3 separate regions of the Homo sapiens genome follow, and regions 1 and 2 are each linked to region 3. Evidence: promoter capture Hi-C in human tissues and cell types (Jung and others, 2019). All regions are on one chromosome and are shown on one strand. The core of a region is centred on a gene start or on the middle of the fragment in contact, and the rest is flanking DNA. Distances in the headings are between cores, read along the strand shown. Region 1 overlaps S100B (S100 calcium binding protein B). Region 2 has its middle 5.0 kb from the start of PRMT2. Region 3 holds the start of SLC19A1 (solute carrier family 19 member 1).

Region 1 (2,700 bases), core at 34-2,533, 1.1 Mb before region 3:
CATGCAAGAAAGCAGACAGCAAGGGCTTGCAGCCTAGTAGGAGCTGAGCTTTCCAGCCGTGTTGTAGCTAATTAGGAAGCTTGATTTGCTTTGTGATTGAAAAATTGAAAACCTCTTTCCAAAGGCTGTTTTAACGGCCTGCATCATTCTTTCTGCTATATTAGGCCTGTGTGTAAGCTGACTGGCCCCAGGGACTCTTGTTAACAGTAACTTAGGAGTCAGGTCTCAGTGATAAAGCGTGCACCGTGCAGCCCGCCATGGCCGTGTAGACCCTAACCCGGAGGGAACCCTGACTACAGAAATTACCCCGGGGCACCCTTAAAACTTCCACTACCTTTAAAAAACAAAGCCTTATCCAGCATTATTTGAAAACACTGCTGTTCTTTAAATGCGTTCCTCATCCATGCAGATAACAGCTGGTTGGCCGGTGTGGCCCTGCAAGGGCGTGGTGGCTTCGGCCTGCTTCCCGGGATGCGCCTGATCACCAGGTGAACGCTCAGCGCTGGCAGCGCTCCTGGAAAAAGCAACTCCATCAGAACTCGCAATCCGAGCCAGCTCTGGGGGCTCCAGCGTGGCCTCCGTGACCCATGCGATTCAAGTCGCGGCTGCAGGATCCTTGCCTCCAACGTGCCTCCAGCACATGCGGCTTCCGAGGGCACTACCGGGGGCTCTGAGCCACCGCGAGGGCCTGCGTTCAATAAAAAGAGCGCAGCTTGGGAGGCCGAGGCAGGTGGATCACAAGGTCAGGAGTTGGAGACCAGCCTGACCAACATGGTGAAACCCCGTCTCTACCAAAAATACAAAAAGTAGCCTGGCGTGGTGGCGCGTGCCTATATTCCCAGCTACTTGGGAGGCTGAGGCAGGAGAATCGCTTGAACCCGGGAGGTGGAGGTTGCAGTGAGCCGAAATCGCGCCACTGCACTCCAGCCTGGGCGACAGAGCAAGACTCCTTCTCAAAAAAAAAAAAAGCGCAGCAACAGCGATCCAGCGCCATCAAAAGGCAACGCAAGCAAAAAACGCGGCTTCCCTTCTGCCCCCGCTAGGGGGAGGCTTCCCCGGGGGCGTCCAGCCACTCCACAGGGGACTTCCGGCCTGTTGGGTCACATGTTCTTCCCTAAGCCAATCACCAGGAAGGGGAGCTGCCAATGGTCCCGGGCAGTCACGTGCCTTTCCACAATGCATGCTGGGCCACCAGCCCCATTCCCGGTGTTCACTGCGCTCCCCGTGGTCCTTGGCCTCCATCTCAGAAAGCTCACGTTCCTCAGGGTCCCTCTGTGCCTTCTGAACAGTAGCGGGTAAAACAGGAAGTCCTGCCTGTCCCAGGCAGTGTGGGAGGCCCGGAGGCTCGCAGGGCCCGAGGCTGGGTGGGGCAGAGGTAGGAACCACAGCTGTGATGGCCGAGAGATGGGTTGGTGAGAGGGGCCTGGGAGAGGCCGGAGGGGACCCAGCGAGGCCACTTCACATCTAGCCACCTGGGGAGTCCCCAGGGCCCTGTGCTCACTTCTCGCTCAGCTCTCGCCTTCTGGAAATTCGTGGTTACTTTTGGCCAAAGGGCGATGTTTTCATTTCGCACCGGGCCCTGCAAAGCTGGTCCTGGTGCATGCTCTGGGCTGGCGGGCAGGAGACCAAGCTTGGGAGGCCCAGGGTGCGACCTTAAGTTGGGGGGCGGGAGGGGCGCTGCTGCCGGGGGGCAGCTCTGGGCTGCCCTTGGCTCGGGTGCCCGCCTCCCACCTGCATTCCTCCCCAGAGGATGCTCTGCCGCCTCGGCCGGAAGTTGAATCGGCCCTTCCAGAGCCTCTTTTGCCCACACTGATCCAAGAATCCTAAAGTGACTAAGTCCCCAGAAGCCTACTCTGCTTCCAAACCAGATAGGGAGAACATTGGTCCTCCAAGGAGCTTGGCTCCAGCACCATCCCTCAGGGATTCCCAGGGCAGCTTCTGAGCACACGGGGGCTCCTCCACCATCCAAAGGGGGTCTGGGGGGACTTATCCAATCAACTGCCGTTAGTTCCAGGCTGTAAATGCCAACCGTCCTCTCCTGGCAATCCCTAGCTGAGTGTGGCCCGCCCTCACCCAGAGGCACCTTCCAGTTCCATGAGTGGGTGGTGGTAGTCGCCACAGCTTGGTGGCCAGCACAGGCCTGGCCTACCCCAAAGGCTGCCTCCAGCATCCCCAGGTGGACAGGGGATGGGCCCGGGCAAGGGGGTGGGGGAAACCCGCCCCCAGCTTTGACCAGGAACACATGGAGTTCGCTCAGGCCTGGAGAGCAGGACCAGGTGTGAAAAGTCTGTTTTCATGAACCTGTTGCCCAGGCTGCCATTTCCATGGCCAGTTCAGCCACAGAAATTTTCTGTGCTCCATCAATTTCTCCGTTTGATCCACAAGATTCTGGGCCACAGCCACTTCGCAAATCTGGCCCTGCCAGCAGTGTTGGTCTCTCAGGGTGGAGACCCTGGGGCCAAGCTGAGGACCCCATTTGTTGACTTGCAGTGAGAAGGTGCTGTTGAGAAGTTGGGCTGCAGGAACCCACCATCTCTGGACGCTGCGGACCATCCTCTACAGGGGCTGCTGTCCCTGCCAGAAGTACAAGCAACACAATTGCCAGACTTTCCTGCCACCAAAAGGAGGAATCATCATCTAATAATTGGATTGCGGGGGGTAAGGCCTTGGGCCCCCAGGCAGTATCTGGACATACCCCAC
Region 2 (2,700 bases), core at 130-2,629, 1.1 Mb before region 3:
TATTTATTAATTAAAGAAAAATAAAAGTGCTCAAATAAAATACTTTATTAGAAAAAGGGAAAGACTAGTCAAATGTTAAGTTTACTTAAAATCTTTAATAAATAAGTTAGCTTTAAAAATAGTGGCAAAGTAATTTAGAAATGTCTTAAGAATTGCCAGCATACATTTTTGTTTGCATTTATTTATCAAGCAATTTCCTACTTATCCCTGCCAATTACTATAAGGTGTCAACATTTGGCATAGGGGTTACAAAACTATAAACCCAGCCCCAAATGGAAGAACATAAATGGCCTGATGGAGCTGAAAAACACAGCACGAGAACTTCATGAAGCATACACAAATATCAATAGCCAAATCAATCAGGTAAAAGAAAGGATATCAGAGACTGAAGATCAACTTAATGAAATAAAGTGTGAAGATAAGATTAGAGAAAAAATAATGAAGAGAAATGAACCCTTCTCAAAAGAAGACATTAATGCGGCCAATAAACGTGAAAAAAAACTCTTCATCACTGGTCATTACAGAAATGCAAATCAAAACCACAATGAGATATCATCTCACACCAGTTAGAAAGGTGATCATTAGAAAGTCAGGAAACAACAGATGCTGGAGAGGATGTGGAGAAATAGGAACGCTTTTACGCTGTTAGTGGGAGTGTAAATTAGTTCAACCATTGTGGAAGACAGTGTGGCGATTCCTCAATGATCTAGAACCAGAAATACCATTTGACCCAGCAATCCCATCACTGGGTATATGCCCAAAGGAATATAAATCATTCTACTATGAAGACACATGCACACACGTATGTTTATTGCAGCACTGTTCACAATAGCAAAGACTTGGAACCAACACAAATGCCCATCAGTGATGGACTGGATAAAGAAAATGTGGCACATATACACCATGGAATACTATGCAGCCATAAAAAGGATGAGTTCATGTCCTTTGCAGGGACATGGATGAAACTGGAAACCATCATTCTCAGCAACTAACACAAGAACAGAAAACCAAACACCACATGTTCTCACTCATAAGTGGGAGCTGAACAATTAGAACATGTGGACACAGGGAGGGGAACATCTCACACCAGGACCTGTCAGCGGGTGGGGGGCTAGGGGAGGGATAGTACTAGGAGAAATACCTAATGTAGATGATGGGTTGATGGGTGCAGCAAACCACCATGGCACGTGTATATGTAACAAACCTGCACATTCTGCACATGTATCCCAGAACTTACAGTATAATGATAAAAAAAAAAGAGAAAAATCTGCTGATGTATAATTCTAAGCCTAAGAAGAATAGCCATTACAAAGGAAGTCAAAATAAATTCATTTTCAGATAAACAGAATCTGACTGAAGCAAACATGCACTAAAATGCTAAAAGAAGAACTTCAGGCTAAAATAAGATAATCTCATAACTGCAGGAAGGACAGAAGAGTACTAGAAAGTGTAAATAAATGGATAAATGTATTTTTAACATTTGTCCTTAAATCAACAATAATTGTGACTTGTGAGGTTTATAATGTGTAGAGGTGGAATATATGCCAACAGCCGCACACAGAGCAAGGGGGATAAATAAACAATTGTAACGTGCTGGATCTTTGTTAGGACAAAGCAAAAGTATCCTAATAACTTCAGGCAGGTCAAGAGTGCATAATGAGATCTCAAAAAATACAATGATGTATGACAACAAGCAAAATAGAAGATAAAAGAAAAATAATAAATTTTAAAAATGGAAAAGAAAACAGTAAGAGAGTACTACAGAAATAAAAAACAGACAAGACAAATGAAAAATAAACAGCAGTGCAGCAAACCACCATGGCACGTGTGTACCTATGTAACAAACCTTCACGTTCTAGGCATGTATCCCAGAACTTAAAGTATAATAAAAAATAAAATAAAAATAAACAGCAAGGTGGCAGAATTAAACCCAACTATATTTGTAACAACATTAAATGTAAAGATAGAAAACATGCCTTTTTTTTTTTTTTTTGAGACAGAGTCTAGCCCTGTCACCCAGGCTAAAGTACAGTAGCACAATCTCAGATCACTGCAACCTCTGCTTCCTGGGTTTAAACGATTCTCATGCCTCAGCCTCCCGAGTAGCTGGAATTAAAGCCGTGTGCCACCCTTCCCAGCTAATTTTTTTTTCTGTATATTTAGTAGAGATGAGGTTTCACCATGTTGGTCTGCCTGATCTCGAACTCCTGACCTCAAGTGATCCACCCACCTCAGCCTCCCAAAGTGCTGGGATTACAGGTGTGAGCCACCGTGCCCGGCCAATGCCAATATTTTTAAGTATCTCTTTTAGAGATTTGACTAAATGGTAGTTATAAGAAACATACTTTACTATAAAGAAACATTTAGTTGAAAGTAAAAGAGTGAAACAATACCACACCAACACAAACCATACTGATAGTGTAAAACACAAATCATACTGATATTGTAAAAAGCAGACTTTAATGCAAATGGTATTACCAGAAATAAGAGAATTATTTCATAATGATAAAATGTCAATTCAGTAGAAAGAAATAGCAGCCCCAGATTTGTGTGTCTATAACATACCTTCAAAATATAAAATCCAGAAATTCAAAAATTAATATAACTCAAAGGAGAAACGGAACCATCCATAATTGTAGTTGGGGAATTTAACACACCTGTCACGTAACTCAGAACAAAAAGGCGGAGGACAGAGATTCA
Region 3 (2,700 bases), core at 13-2,512:
CCTTTTTAAGTTCCTTTGAGATTTGTTCGTGTGGCTTGCTACACTCAGGACTCTGGAAAGAAGGCCCAGGCCAGAGCTTTGGGCAGGCGGCCATTTAGGGCAAGGGCCCTGTGTTGGCTTCCTGGTGGGGTTGCCCTGCTGGTGGGCGGGAGACCAAGAGCACCCCCGCAACACCAGGAGGCAGGTCGCGGATTGTGCTGTCTACACTCCGGAAGGGGTACATTCCAGGGGCTGCTGCCCCAGACTCACCCCTCGCCTGGGACCCGCACTCTTGAGCTGTGGGTACCACGGTGGCCGTCCCCTTCTGTTCTGTGCAGTGGACTTCCTGGCTCCTCCTTAGCCTTGGGGCCCCCACAGCCCTCGGCTTGGCTTCCCTCCCCATAGCCAGGCCCTGGGTAACTCCAGGGGAAAGTGACCCTGAGGCCCCCCACTTCTCCCCGTGTCCTGCACAGGCCTTGGGCTTTCGGCGGTGCTGTCTGCCGCAGCCCCACGCCTTCCTGGGAGAGTGGCCCAGGCCCCCCTTCCTGAGTGTGACTGCGCTGCCGTCTGCGAGGCCTGCGCGGGTCTCCCCCGGGCTGTCCCTGCTGGGATGGGGACTGGTGGCCCCGGGCCACGTCCTGGATCCGGCTTGCTCCTTGGTACAAGCCCGTACGGGTCACGGTCAGGCAGGAGGGCGGGCGGCGGGGTCCCGGGGGCGCCGAGTTCGGGGCCGTGCGGTCCCCAAGAGCAGGCTGTGCGTGTCCCTGTTGGAGCCCCACGAAGGCGGCCCAGGGCCACCCCTGAGGGCGCGTGGGCCCGACCCGCGTCCCGGATCCAGCTTGCGGCCAGGAATGCAGGTGTTCCAGGGTGCCAAAAGGAAAACGCACAAGGCCTCGTCGAGGAGGGGGGGTCAGGAGGGGACCGGGGGTGGGAAGAACGCGGGGGAGAGGGATGGCAGGGTGCCCGCCCGAGGGACCGACACCTCCGCGAGTGGCACCCCAGGATGCTGACGCCGGCGGGGGTGGGGGCCCGAGGGGCGGTCGGGGTCAGGGGGCGGCCCCAGGGGTAGGGCCGCAGCACGAGGGGCCGCGTGACCCCGGCGGTGACCGGGTGGGGAGAGGCCGGCGCCGGGGCTGGGAGACGGCCGTGGGTGGGAGGGTGCCCCGTGGGGACGCTCCTGCCGCAGCGCCCGGCCACGCGCGAGGCCCCGCCCTCAGGACGCGTTCGGCGGGACGGACCCGCCCACCCCGCAGCCGCGCGCCCGCCGCGCCGCCTTGTGGGCGCTGTAGTCCCGGAGTCCGCGTGCGCGGGGCCGGGTCCGGGAGCCCCAGGGCAGCCGCCCCGCCGAGTCGCAGGTACCGGTGGGGAACGGGGCCACGGGGCCGCGTGTCGGGGGCTGCGGGGTGTCTCGGGGCCCTGGGGTGAGTGCGGGGCGCGGGCCGAGGTTTGCAGGGCCCTGTGAGGTGAGTGTGGGGGCTGGCGCTGGGGTCCGCGGGGCCCTGGGGAGGGTGCGGGGCGTGGGCCGGGGTCTGCGGTCTGCAGCCTGGGGTCCGCGGGGCCCTGGGGAGGGTGCGGGGCGTGGGCCGGGGTCTGCGGTCTGCAGCCTGGGGTCTGGGGGGCCCTGGGGAGGGTGCGGGGCGTGGCCGGGGTCTGCGGTCTGCAGCCTGGGGTCTGGGGGGCCCTGGGGAGGGTGCGGGGCGTGGGCCGGGGTCTCCGCGGGGGTCGCGGTGGCCCGGGCGCCTGGCAGAACCGTTGCTGTGCAGCGGGTTTCCCGCCGCTCGCTTTCCGCCGCAGCCTGCGAATGGGGTGGGGAGTCCCGGCCCCCAGCCTGCCCTCCGCGTCATCCTGGGGCGCCAAGTCCCACCCCCGGGTCTGGAGGAAAGCGTGGATCCGGCGTTCGCGCCCAGGCACGTGTTGCTTCGGGACGGGCCAGCCGGTGGGTGAACCCTGCCAGCCACGCGTGGGGCGGGCCCCTGGCACATCTCCAGACCATTGTCTCCTGTGCCAGAAGCTTTGTAGGTGCAACTTCCCCTTGGAGCAGCTGTGGGTGCGGATCCAGCGGAGCAATCCCGAGGCGTCTCAGAGAGAGCCTGGACAGCCGCTGGAGCCTTTCCCGAGTGGGTCCTTCCAACACCGCTACAGCAGGAAAGCCATCCCCCTAGGGTCCTGTCCATCGGAAACTCCTGTCCTGGGGAGTCTGGCCTGCCTGGCCTCAGGACACAGGCCAACTAAGCTGGCCCCGAAATCCAGAATGCATCCAGAGGGAAGGTGGGATAAAGTCCTTGGAGGCGCCTGTTGGCCGCCCTGTAAAGAGGTGGCCTCCCCCTACGGAGACCCGAGGATCCCCGCACAGCCCAGATTCAATCAGCAGAGCCGAGGTGCCTCTGGCCCAGTGCACCTGCCTGCCCTGTCCAGGCCTGGGAGCCAGGCTGCATCTCACTGGCCGCCTTTGCCTGGGTGCCACCTGTGCACTGCTTGTTGCAATTGCTAATTGCTTTCTTTCCGAAGGGGCTTTGGTGGATTTTTATAATTCCAGATAGTACAGTTATCTCTGCTGGACACAGATGAGAAAGAGTGCTTCTCGGGTGTTTGGGCCTGCAGCAGTGATAGCCGGAGGGTCTAATTATGCTGTTAGGAACCCTGAACTTGGTCATCTGAACAGGGGTGGGAGGGTGTGCAATGCTTTCTTCTTCTTCTTTTTAAACTAGCAGGCGTTCTAAA

What was found. Contacts are between HindIII fragments. The study calls those that stand out against the background at their distance.
Region 1: a contact is called between a fragment that was not itself captured here and the fragment with the promoter of SLC19A1 in region 3, in 1 of the 25 tissues and cell types used here (dorsolateral prefrontal cortex).
Region 2: a fragment that was not itself captured here is called in contact with the fragment with the promoter of SLC19A1 in region 3 in 1 of the 25 tissues and cell types used here (dorsolateral prefrontal cortex).

Annotation. Positions count from the first base shown.
Region 1 is chr21:46,596,623-46,599,322 of GRCh38, reverse strand. S100B (S100 calcium binding protein B) reads left to right here. Exons shown (of 3, transcript NM_006272.3): 3 at 1-719. Among named protein-coding and RNA genes, the nearest start is that of S100B, 7.1 kb to the left of the region's middle. The HindIII fragment of the contact is 6,650 bases long and covers 1-2,700 here.
Region 2 is chr21:46,629,366-46,632,065 of GRCh38, reverse strand. No RefSeq gene overlaps it. Among named protein-coding and RNA genes, the nearest start is that of PRMT2, 5.0 kb to the left of the region's middle. The HindIII fragment of the contact is 6,587 bases long and covers 1-2,700 here.
Region 3 is chr21:45,541,002-45,543,701 of GRCh38, reverse strand. It overlaps SLC19A1 (solute carrier family 19 member 1), which reads left to right and starts at 1,262. Exons shown (of 6, transcript NM_194255.4): 1 at 1,262-1,334. RefSeq lists silencers at 989-1,068, 1,109-1,418, 1,769-1,828 and an enhancer at 622-1,134. The HindIII fragment of the contact is 13,138 bases long and covers 1-2,700 here.